2 separate regions of the Homo sapiens genome follow, and region 2 is linked to region 1. Evidence: promoter capture Hi-C in human tissues and cell types (Jung and others, 2019). All regions are on one chromosome and are shown on one strand. Each heading gives the region's core, a stretch centred on a gene start or on the middle of the fragment in contact. The rest is flanking DNA. Distances are from core to core; before and after follow the strand shown. Region 1 holds the start of RASSF8 (Ras association domain family member 8). Region 2 has its middle 22 kb from the start of MIR4302.

Region 1 (6,408 bases), core at 3,874-6,373:
AGTGATTATCCTGCCTCAGCCTCCAAAGTAGCTGGGATTACAGGTGCCCACCACCACGCCTGGCTAATTTTTGTATTTTTAGTGGAGACGGGGTTTCACCATGTTGGCCAGACTGGTCTCGAACTCCTAAGGTCAGGTGATCCGCCTGCCTCAGCCTCCCAAAGTCCTGGGATTACAGGCCTGAGCCACCACGCCTAGCCCAAGGATTCCATTTTTACGTTGAATCTTGTATTTGGCTCTCAGATCCCCTTGATTAACTTGACTAATGATTTTTCCTGACCGAAGCACACAAGAAAAAGAAACAAAGGGTATAGAACATAAAATTCCTTGTGAGTTTCTTAAAGCCAGAGTTCATACCCCTGCAGTATTGTTATTAAAATATTTACTGGCGGTTTCTATCTGACCCAGTCAGATAACCGAGGCATCTAACTGGATCCAAGCCAGTTAATTATCAGATCCAATCAAATCCTGGACCCAGTCCAATGTCTATCGACTTCCAAACTCAGCTAAGATCAAAAATTTGCTCAAGCAAGCTTGAACAGCTGAAAACGGCAATGTATGGAGCTTCAGAATCTGAGAGAGAATGCAGCCACAATCTCCAGTTGCTGTAAGAGAGCAGTGGACACTGCGAGAGGACGGGCCCAGCAGGTACCCCTTGTGGTCACTCAGTGCTCCTGGGGGATCACTGGGAGCTCTACTTTGGGGTCCATTTCTGACACCATCTGTTAAAAGAAAAACTTCAGACAAATTAAATTTAGCAGAGCTCAATTGAACAAAGAATGACTTGTGAATCAGACAGACCCCTGAACCAGGATAGCTTTGGAGTGACTCCAGTGCTGCTGAGTGGTTGGAGAGAATTTATGGACAAAAAAGGAAAGTGACCTAAGAAAACAGAAGTAAGGTATAGAAACAGCTGGATTAGTTACACCATGACATTTCCCTTATTTGAGCATGGTTTGAACAGTTGGCCACCTCTGATTGGCTGAAACTTGGTGACTGGTACAAGAGTAGGTTACAATCTGTTTAATCATTGGGTTATAGTTCACTATGTATGAAGAACCTTTAGGTTAAACTTAAAATATTGAAGGAGGCAGCTTTAGGGTAAATTTAACACTAGGAAGCTGTAAGTAGTTTATTATGGGTGATACACAGAGTCGGGCAAGAAGGGGGGCAGAGGTGGAAAGACGGGTGAGACCAGGTAATAAAGAATCTTATGTTATATTCATAAGTCCATAATTTATTCCTGCCAGCACCACATACCTATTTGTTTAAAAATTTCATTTCCATAGCCCCCCTAGACTTCCTCATGAAGGAATTTCCTAAGACTTTGACCTTGATGAATTCTGATTCATTGACAATCCCTTCTTTATTTTCTTATTTTTATTTTTTCACTTTCTTATGGTCCTGAGACCACTCCTTTCTGAGTACAAGCATCTTGGCTGGCCTAGAATATAGTCACAACTGTGTTCCACGGACTTTACTGAAGGTGGAAACAACTGTCTTCCCAGCATCCCATCTGTACTGGTCCATTTGCATTGCTATAAAGGCAATTTATAATTCACAGTTTATTATGGCTCACAGTTCTGCAGGCTTATAGGAAGCATGGGACGAGCATCTGCTCCTGGTGAGGCCTCAGGGAGCTTCCAAACATGGTGGAAGGCAAAGGTGGAGTTGGCATATCACCTGGCAAGAACAGGAGCAAGAGAGAGAGGAGGAAGATCACAGACTCTTTTAAACATCCAGATCTTTCATGAACTCATTACTGCAGGGAAGGTACATAGCCACACAAGAGATTCCCCATCACCCAAATACCTTCCACTAGGTCCAACTCCAACATGGCGGTCACATTTCAACACGAAATTTGGAGGGAAAAAACATCCAAACAATATCACCATCTTACAGGCTGGTGTTGTCTGGTGGGCTGTTTGGGAAATACTGGTCTAGACACATTTCTCAAACTTGGCAATATGACTCCACTGGACATTAAAAAGGGATTTCCAGGTATTTCAAGATAAAGGGATTTATTCTCAGGAGCTGCAAACATAAGCTAGGTTTTCTTACAGTGTTAACATCTTGGTTTCAGTTACACGGGTCACCAGATTGATACAGATTTAGCTGAGGTAATAAATCACTGCTTCAGCAATCTTAACAGTCAAGTCAGTTATCTAACGATGATTTGACAAGTAATGAGGTCACCTGCCATTTCCTCCCATAAGTAATTCAACTGCATTTAGTTCATAATACATATGGCTAGAAAAGCATCTAAATCAATTCCTACGATCAGAGAGAGAGATGTCCCCATCACCATGAAGCAGAAGTTACAAAGAAATGGGGGAAGATGCTATGCAGTTGGCCTTAAACATAGAGAAAGGGACTATAAGCCAAGGAATGCAGGTGGCATCTAGAGGCTGAAAAGGGCAAGGAAATGGATTCTCCCCTCGATCCTCCAGAAGGAACACAGCCCACACTTTGATTTTAGATTTCTGACCTCCAGGTCTATAAGATGATCAATTCATCTCTCGATATGGCCTCCTCCTGTTCATTGCCACTGCTCTCCAGTTTAGACTCTCCCTTGGATCTGCCTCTTTTCTGAATCCATCCTCTCAAGTTGTTTTCTTAAAAATCAAATCTTATTATGTCACAGGGTTTGAAGTGCATGAATACTCACTGACTCTAGTTAGGCTCCTTTCCTGGAATATCATTAGAAACCAGAAGTAAGGGTTGTTTACAATTCCCATCAAGGACATTTGGTGTGATCTCAGGAAGGCTTAACAGGGATGTGATTATAGCTACCAAAAAAAAAAAAAAGCTTAAAACAAATTGTACTACACTCTGAAGAAAGAACGCATTAACCAAATGGGCTAGGTAGGGTAAAGATTTTTCTGCACTTATCCAGCACTGAATGGAGGCAAATTCACTGACTTTGGCAGCCATCAGTAAGACTGGAGGTGAGGATACCTGGATTTTTAGGAAGGGTTTTTCCTAAATAGTAGGTATTGTTATCCAATCAGGAAGTTCTGTCCTGATATAAATGCTCATCATATAAGAGTTAGTTATCAAGAGTCAGTCAACTTGCTCACCTCTAGATGTGGTAATACTGAGGTCCAGATCCTCCTGGTGATCAACACAAACTGGATTAAGAGTCAGCTACTCAGTCAGATCCTGAATCCTGGTCCAACGATAACCACACTCTTGCCTGCTACCTGCTTCAAGAAGTACACAAAAGAGGGATCACTACCACAGCCAAAGAAAGGAGGAAAGTTTTTTTTTTTTTTTTTTTTTTTTTTTTGAGATGGAGTTTCGCTCTTGTTGCCCAGGCTGGGGTGCAATGGCGTGATCTCGGCTCACTGCAACCTCTGCCTCCCAGGTTCAAGCGATTCTCCTGCCTCAGCCTCCCAGTTGCTGGGATTGCAGGCATGTGCCACCATGCCCGGCTAATTTTGTATTTTTAGTAGAGACGGGGTTTCTCCATGTTGGTCAGGCTGGTCTCGAACTCCCAACCTCAGGCAATCTGCCAGCCTTGGCCTCCCAAAGTGCTGGGGTTATAGGCATGAGCCACCGCGCCCGGCCAAAAGGCAGAAAGTTCTAAGAAGGAGAGGTCAACATTGGCAAATGCCACAAAGGGCACAAGATGGGAATTAAATTTTTCCATTAGATTTGGCAATTAAGCAATGGCTGATGTTGTTCAGTGGAGTGAAAGGCTGAGAAGGGAATGAGAGGTTAGGAAACATTCACCTTAAGGCTAGGCAACTCCTTTGAAAAGAGTCAAGTAGGGTTAAGGGAGGATCCATGCCCTCCAGGTTGACTTTTAAATCATATTCCCTTTGGTTTTGCATTTGAATCACAGTGAACTTTCTCCTCTCCAAATGTTGATTTGACAAATTTGAGTCTTACCATGGCTCTCTTCTCAGTCCACCTGCAGGTCAAGGAACTAATGAGGTGTGGAGTAACTAAAGGTCAAAAAACAAGAGGAAGAAACAAAGGGCCAAAAAACCCCAAACCTTAAATCAGGTCCTGAGTCAGATACGCTGTAACAAATTCTGCTTCAAGTTTAATATTCTTGTTTTGATGATGTTTAAAAAAAGAAAAATAAAAGCAAGTGTCTGGAAAATTAAAAGGCGGGGTGGGGGGGGGCATTTTAATTGGAATGCTTTCTTGTATCTCATCCACTATCCGCACCCCATCGCCCTGCAAATTAATAGCTGTTGCGGAGTTGGGGTATGTGTGACCACAAAATCCAAAGGCTGAATTTTGCCCAGTGCCTGAGTAATTGCATGCCACACACAAAAAAACAGTAGAATATTGAAAACAACATACACATCTGTATTTCCATATGAAAGCACCCGTTTCCTTTCTTGATTATCTGCTATTTTTAAAGGGGTTGGGAGTGCAGCGGGGCGGGGGGATGAGGCGTTTTTTCTGAATACGAGCCCAGCTCTTTCTAAACTTTTGTTACTCACGTCCGTTTGATTCATTTGCTGTGTTTTTTCTTTCTTTCTTTTTTTTTTTCCCCTCTCCTGCCTCTGTCATTGCCTGCTGCTAAGAGGGACGCTGAATCACAGCCACTGCAGATGAAAAGCAATTCAAACCCAGTCCTTGGAGGGGGGATGGAACGGCTCTTTTTGATTTTTTTCCCCTCTGCAGAAAAAGCCTCCTACTTTCCGGGTGACCGTAGAGGGCAGTTTGACAAGTCTCAGCCCCGGGCGATGGAAGATTTTGCCCGTGGGACCGTCACGAGCCACCGGTCATCTCCCCGCGCCCGGCTTTCGGGTCCTCAGGCCTCGGTGCGTCGCGGGCCAGGCGACAGCGGGGGGGCGTCGCGGGCCGGGCGAGCGTGGCCCGGTGGGCCCGAGGGTCGCGCCGAGCTCCCCGCCGCTTTAAAAGCTCCCACAATGCAGCGCTGGCGTCCCAGTTCCGTTACGAGGTCTCTCCCGGCGCCGGCGAGCGGGCCAGGCGCGGGCGGGGCGCGGAGGAGCGGCGGCTGAAACCCGAGCGCCCGGCCGAGGGGGGCGCCCCCGCGCCGCTCCTCTCGCGCGCTCAGCCGCTGCCCGGCGAAGGGGCGGAGCCGCCTGGCCGCCCGGCCCGGCCCGGCCCGGCCCGGCCCCCAGCCCGGCCCCCAGCCCAGAGGCACCGGCCGCGGGAGCGAGCGGGTCGCCGACTCCTACGCCCGCGCTCCTCCTACGCCCGCGCTCGTCCGGCGCCCCGCGCCGCGCCCCGCTCAGCGTCTGCCGCCCAGCTCCTCGCCCAGCCTCGCCGAGCCTCGCCCTTCCCGCCCGCGGCGGCGTTGGCGCTGGGGGCGGCTCCCGCGGCGTCTCTGCCGCTGGCCGAGCGCTCGCGCACCGCGGCACCCCCGCCAGTGGCGTCCACACTCACCTAGCGCGGGCCGGGAGGTGCGCGGAGAGGGAACGCCGGGGGGCCGGGGCCTCCAGCCGGTGCGGGGCGCGCGGCGCGGGGAGCGCCGGGGAGTGCCGGGGAGTGCGGCGCGGGGACGGGCGCTGGGCGGCCGCGGAGCTCCGGGTGCCGCCGCGTCCCCAGCGCCCCGGCCGGCCCCTCTGGGCGGCCTGCGGGGGCGGCGCAGTTGCGAAACTGAGTAAGTATTAACTTTACTTAGCGGCGGCGATCCGGGCTGCGCCGGGGACCCCGCCCGTCCCGCCTGCAGCCTCGGAGCTGCCCTCCGCCCGGTTGCCCCTCTCTCCGCACCTTGGGTACCTCGTCCGTTCCGCCCCCACCCTGCCCCGCCGCGGGCTCCCGCTCCCTCTGCGTTCACCTTTCCTGGTGTGTCACCCTTTGCGCCTCTCCTCGCGGCACACAAGCCGCGGACTGAAAAGTACGAGCTTGGTCTTTGCTTTTCTGCTTCCTCCCAGTGTCCTTGGCAAGGGAGTTTAGAGGCCACTTTTCTTGCAAAGGGAATTTTATGTCTGGTTTTTAAAATATTTTTTCCTCCGGATGGAAATCGGATGCTCGCTTGCCGGGTGGCGGTTTGGTGAACGCTTTTCTCCTCTAAAAAAATATTGGTTTATAGGTTTTTAAATTTCATTTGAACTATTAACCATCTGCATTCTATTCTCCTTTGCCGCCAGTCCCTTTGGGGAGGGGAGTCCAGAAGAGGGGACGTTCAAAGTAATTCTGACTTGCAAACTAGAAAGTTTGAGAGGGTAAATCGCACAAAGCCGGAAGATTCAACTTGAAGGGACGCGAGCTTTGAATGTGGGTCCTGGTGCGGCACTGGGTTTTAAAAGATGAGTACTTGGGTTCGGAATCCAGTGTTGCGTTGTTATTTTAGCATCATAGAGCCGCCTGGTGTTGCTAAACCACTACTTTCCCAGCCTCAAATGGCATCTTGAACAGTGCAACGTAGGATATATAATTGCGGGTCAATATTGTTGCTGATCTTTAGGGATTTAGAAG
Region 2 (6,408 bases), core at 1,220-3,719, 110 kb before region 1:
GGCATGAGAATTGCTTGAACCCAGGAGGTGGAGGTTGCAGTGAGCCAAGATCATGCCACTGCATTCCAGCCTGGGTGACAGAGAGCAAGACTCTGTCTCAGAAAAATAATAAAACAAAATAAATAAATAAATACTGTCTGTGTGCATGTGTATATATAATCAAATATATATGCATGTGTATATAAATGCAAATATATATGCGTGAATACATATATATATACACATGCATGTATATTTGATTATAAAAGTGTGGGGTGATCTGAACTACTGAATATGGAGAAGGCTCTTGGGCCCTTCTGATGGGAGAAATTTGGGCAGAGGAGTTCAGCCTTTTTGCATGAAGGGAGTTCTAACTGGAATAGCCAGAAGGTGACCCTAACTCTGACCCCTTATCCAGGGGGAATAAGAATGATTGTTGCTGAGAGAGATGAACCATTGGAATGGTCCTTCTACCAAAATCAAAGGCTGTGGGCAGCCAGGTATGCTTTGATTTTCCAGCCTCTCCTGGGTGCTCCCCTTTAGGGAGATTTCCCTAGAAGCCACATATCCTGGGTGTGTACCCATGGTCAGGGGGACTGCTCCCTATAGTGGGAAGTAAGAAAGGGCAGAGATGCTCCATTTTACAGACTGGGTAGGCAGGATCTGACTGTAGTGGGCAGCGGCCCAGAGTATGGCCTGGGACTCTACCCACAGTGGAAGCATGAAAGAGCAAATATAGTGCTTGAGAGCCTGGACTCTGGGTCAGACAAACCTATGATCCCAGGGTGGCTTTACCACTCGCCAGCTGAGTGACTTAGGAAAGTTTTCTCCCATTTCCACACCCCACTTTCTCATCCACAAATTGGAGATTGTAAAATAGATGGTATCAATCTTGCAGGAATGTTGTGAGTTCCTAGCACGTAAGTATTCAATACAGAGTAAGGAGAAAACAGTAGCCCAGAGGACTAATGGAGAGTGGTGTTAGAAAAGGTGAGACAGGGAAGGAAGGAGCAGAATAAAGAAATCAAATGTCCCTTTACTGAAAATGGCCACATAGTCACAACAGTGGTGAAAAGGGCACCTGTGTCCGTCCTGGATGGCCCGTTAGTCAGCTGGCCATCTTTCTCAAAACAGAGCATGGAGCTGTCGTGCAAGATACCACCAAACAGATGTCAAGATTCCTCCAGCAAAGTGTAAGCATAGATTAAAAAATAAAATAAAGTAAACCCTCTGGTTTGAAAATAATTTCCCAAAATTGTCTGGTCCGTCTTCCTTTCACGAGGCAGACTTCAATTTAAACAACTCAAAAGATACAACATGACTTTAATTTTAAGTGCCAGTAGAGAAATAATTTTCACAACCTCCCTTGACAAACTATTTCAATGGGTCACAATCTTTACTTCAGAAAGATTTTTTTTTTTTTTTAACCTGAGTGGTCTGGCCAGGTGTGGTGGCTCATGCCTGTAATCCCAGCACTTTGAGGGGCCCAGGTGGAAAGATAGCTTGAGCCCAGGAGTTCGAGAGCACCCTGGGCAACATAGCAAGATCTCCTCTCTATAAAAACAAAAACAAAAAATTAGGCAGGTGTAGTGGCTCGCACCTGTGGTCCCAGCTACTCAGGAGACTGAGGTGGGAGGATTGCTTGAACCCAGGAGATTGAGGTGGCAGTGAGCCAACGTAGAACCACTGCACTCCAGCCTGGGCAACAAAGTGAGACCCTGTTTCAAATTAAAAAAAAAAAAAGATGCTGGGTAGTCATTACTAATGTGTAATGACATTCTGTCTCTAATGGTCAGTCATTATGCTTTCTGAAGGGATTATTTCCTTGACCAACTTTTGGGTTAGTAAATTGATTCCCTAATGAAGAAAATGTGTAATATTGTGAGAAGTTAGAGTTCCATATAAAACATCATATTTAGAATATTCAGATTTGAGCCCTCAGAAATGATTTGAGTTCCAAGCTTATCACCGCAGTTCAGATTGACTCTCATAAAGGGTGCTAGTGAAGGTGGTTTCCTATTGTTCCTTCCATAGCATCTCTTGGATTAATTGTCCTTCACCCAGCTGCCCATAAGAATCACCCTGGGAACACTGAAAAAATGCTGATGCTAGGGCCCCACCCCCAGAGATTCTGAGTTAATTGGCCTGGGATGAGGCTTGTCATTGCTTTATTTTTAAAGTTCCCAGGTGACTGTAGCAGATTTGAGAGCCAGTGCTCTCTGCGGAATTATAAATGCAAAGACATGAAATATTCTTTTCTCTTTCCTTTGTCCTTTAGTTTCACAATGCAGTCATTTAAGAAAGATTATGATATGAATATAATCTCTTTAGTTAAAAATACTTAAATGACTGCATAATGATTCTGTCTTTTCATTTGAGTGATTTAGAGAGGAATGATATAGTAACTCCTACATCTACTATGAAACGGTCTTATAAATTGCATTTGAAAATTATTGAAACTATGTTCACCAGCTAATGAATCTTTTTTTTTTTTTGCTATAAACCAGGAAGACAAAAATTTCTATTAAAGTAATTAATGAGCATTTTTCACCTTTCCTTGAGAGATGCCTGTTCTGCTTCTAATAAAGCCACCAGTTTCTCAGGTATCCATACCTTAATCTTGCCACCTCTACCACAGTGCCTTATAATGGGCAAAAAGTGAGCTGTATTTTTAAAATTTTTTTAATTTTTTAATTTTTATTTTTATTTGTTTATTTATTTTGAGACAGGGTCTGTCTGATTCTGTCACCCAGGCTGGAGTACAGTGGCGTGATCACTGCTCACAGCAACCTCCACCTCCTGGGCTCAAGAGATCCTCCCACCTCAGCTTCCCAAGTAGCTGTAACTGCAGGCCAATGCCACCATCCCCGGCTAATTTTTGTATTTTTTGTAGAGACGGGGTTTCGCCATGTTACCCAGGCTGTTTTCAAACTCCTAAGCTCAACTGATCCTCATGCCTCAGCCTCCCAAAGTGCTGGAATTACAGGCATATTTTATTTTCAATGTATAAATGAAAATACCCCATTGGTGGTGGTGAGGGTGGAGGGAGGGGTCATTGATATTCCCTCTCTGCTTCACAGTGGCTTTCATTCGTGATCCTCTTTGTGAAACTTTGTCCCTGCTCTCCAGGGCTGTTCTGGAGCTCTCCAGGTTGCTGCTTCTCCATGTATTCATTGAAACTTCATTTAATAAATCTTCATGAGGACCTTGATATGTGTCTGGCACTATTTAAGACTGTGGACCTGTGGCAGTGAGCAAGACAGGCAAGAAAAGCCAATTCTGTCACGGAGATTGCTTCAAAAGGGGAAACAGAATAAACAACAAATAAAAAGAAAATAAATATCAGGCAATACAGAGAATGTAATATATTGCAATCTTGTATTTCATGGAATACACTTAGGGCAATTCTGGTCTATTATATGCTTCTAAGTAAAGTTGCTCCCCACCCCCCGTTTATCATAAACTAAAATGGCTTTGTTATTTTCTCCCAAGAAACCTTTCACTTTTCTTTTACTAAAAAACTCCTATAGAATTATATCTAGCTTCACAGTGTCCAGAATTTCATCTGCTGAAAGCTCACTCAGAATATTACTTCTTTAAGTTCAGTAGAGAAATGTTGAACAGGGCATGGCCATAAAATTTCAAGTGAACTTAGTTTTGCTTGGAACTCACAACATGTTAATTTTCTCTTCTTGCTTCTTTGTCATTTTCTGATGGCTTTGACTCTAGATTTTCTTTACATTCTAGACCTTACATTGACCAAAGATGAGATTTTCCAGCTTCTTCCACATATTTGGATATCCATTCTCTTAACTCAGTTCCTGAATTCAATTTGCCATGTGCCATTTTCACTCTACACTTCTGAAGTTTTGGTGGAAAGTCTAGTGACTGCCCAGTATAACAACTCAGAGGAAAAAAAAAGTGCTACTCTGTACTCTATTGACATAACAATGATTCAATAAACATTTCTTGCACATCCACTGTGCACTGTGTTCTAAGAGCTGTATGATGCACAGGGATTACAAAGATAAACAAGATACAGCCTCCCTTTCTGAAGAATCTTACAATGGAAGGTCTGTGGTCAGTTGGTTAAACAAAAAACTCTATTAAAGTGGACAATCTCATCCTTAAGTTTCTCAATGTAAAAAAAAAAGTGGACAATCATAACACATGCATAGCTGAAATGTTTAATTTTTAACTTTAAACCCTTAAAGATACATTCACTACTCACCAAATTTTAGAAGTAGGGTCAAGGCCTTTTCTTTGATTGATGATTGAACTTTGCATGGTCTTTCTTGCATAGCCATAACATGCCATCAATAATTTCTAGTTTTAGTTTATTTAAAATAGAGAAAGAATGTACCACCACTGTGGAAGTGGCTGAATACTAAAACCATTTAGATTTCTGTGATTTTTCCTGAGTCTTATACAGTTGCCTTGCTCATATCTATTCTAACAGCACTTGTTTTAGCATCTCATGTTTATAGTATTTCCAAAGTATTAAAGTAAGTTTTCAAGAAACAGCAACTCTCTGTCACTCCACACTTCATATTTCATCAGCCTAATTATATTTAATTCAACTACGTGCTTTGAAAGATCAAATACAACCAACATAATCAGGTTTGAGTACAAACTGAACTGACTCTTGGTAAGCACACACTCCATGTGGAGGGAGACAAGGAGGACCAGGAGAAGGAGCCCTCTCAATTGGGAGCCTTCAGTGTATCTATCCGTATATTCCCCAGACAGCACAGAATGCTCTGGGTAATCTGACAAGTTGCTTAAGATATATACTCATACTATATTATTGTAAAATGATATTATTAAATAAAATTTCACCTAAAGCTGCCTCCTTACATATTCTAAGTTCAGCCTAAAGGTTTCTCGTCCACAGTGAACTGTAACCCAACTGGATGTGTAAACAGACCAGAACCTACTTTTGTGCCAATCACCAAGTTTCAGCCAAAGGTGGCCAACTGTTCAAACCAGGTTCAAATAAGGCAAATGCTGAGCTGTTATCAATCTGGCTGTTTCTGTACCTCACTTCCATTTTCCGGATATAACTTCCCTTCTTCTGTCCATAAATTTTCTTCCACCATGTGGCTGCACAAGAGTCTGTCTGAATCTGCTGTGCTTCTGGTGACTGCCCGATTTACAAATCATTCTTTGCTCAATTAAACTCTGTTCAATTTAATTTGTCTAAGGTTTTCATTTTAACAAAATGAATGATTTAATAAAGGCTTGTGCAAAGACTTAACAATATAAATCATTTAAAAGGCTTGTGCAGTTTTTTTGTTTGTTTGTTTGTTTTATGAGACAAGGTTTCACTCTGCTGCCCAGGCTGAGTGCAGTGGTAAAATCATAGCTCACTGCAGCCTCAAACTGGGTTCAAGCAATCCTCCCGCCTCAGCCTTCCAAGTAGCTGGGACTACAGGTTCGCACCACCATGCCCTGCTAATTTTTAAAATTTTGGTAGACATGAGGTCTTGCTATGTTGCTCAGACTGTGTGCAAAATGTTACGTATATCTTAAAAGGACCCTCCCCTGTTACCAGCATAAATATTGTTTTGGAATTTTCTCTTACCTTTTTTTGTCTTTGATTATTTTAAATTTTTTTTGGATATTCAATGCAATTGCATAGTTCAACATTTCTAAGGTAAAACAAACAGTGAGAAGTGTCTCTGACACCCCTGGCCCCAGCCATCCACCTCCCTGTCCCAGAGGCAACCAGTGTCACCAGCTCCTCCATGCTGAAGTTCCTTACGGAGTTTTTCTTTTTTCTTTTTTTGAGACAGCTGTTGCCCATTTCAGCTCACTGCAACCTCTGCCTCCCGGGTTCAAGTGATTCTCCTGCCTCAGCCTCCTCAGTAGCTGAGATTGCAGGCACCTGCCACCATGCCCGGCTAATTTTTTTTTTTTTTTTTTTTTTTTTTTTTTTTTTAGTATAGACGGGTTTTGCCATGTTGGCCAGGCTCGTCTTGAACTCTCAACCTCAAGCAATCTGCCCACCTCGGCCTCCCAAAGTGCTGGGATTACAGGCATTAGCCTCCGCGACTGGTCTCCTTACGGAGATTTTTAAATGACTATAAAAACATATCAGATGCATAATCGAATTCATTATCTTCTATTTTCCTTTTCATAAAAATACCGAGTGTTAGCATACTAGTTTCTGCCATTTCTAGGATGAGTTTTGACTTCACTCTCTGGGACAGAATTGTCATCAAGCAGGTTGAAACTTGTCAGATGCTCTGAGTTTCCCTGACTAAGTCTCCAGCAGGTAGCCAGATTATGTCCTAATTAGTACCATATCTTGATCATGTCCCCCTTTTGTAACATATATTAAGACGACATTGTGTCTTTCCTCTCTTAGGTCAATTAAACGTCATTTCTCTCTCTTTTATTTATTTGAAAGCAGGTTAGTGTATATTT

Evidence for each region. The method cuts DNA at HindIII sites, captures the fragments that hold promoters and counts their contacts. A contact is called where the count stands out against the background at its distance.
Region 2: a fragment that was not itself captured here is called in contact with the fragment with the promoter of RASSF8 in region 1 in 2 of the 25 tissues and cell types used here (IMR-90 fibroblasts and aorta).

Annotation. Positions count from the first base shown.
Region 1 is chr12:25,953,559-25,959,966 of GRCh38, forward strand. It overlaps RASSF8 (Ras association domain family member 8), which reads left to right and starts at 5,124. Exons shown (of 6, transcript NM_001394098.1): 1 at 5,124-5,590. It overlaps RASSF8-AS1 (RASSF8 antisense RNA 1), which reads right to left and starts at 5,884. Exons shown (of 4, transcript NR_038228.1): 1 at 5,768-5,884; 2 at 3,081-3,206; 3 at 2,669-2,789; 4 at 1,096-1,683. RefSeq lists silencers at 4,736-5,225, 5,326-5,425, 5,496-5,545, 5,686-5,735. The HindIII fragment of the contact is 6,427 bases long and covers 1,672-6,408 here.
Region 2 is chr12:25,848,983-25,855,390 of GRCh38, forward strand. No RefSeq gene overlaps it. Among named protein-coding and RNA genes, the nearest start is that of MIR4302, 22 kb to the right of the region's middle. The HindIII fragment of the contact is 8,335 bases long and covers 1-6,408 here.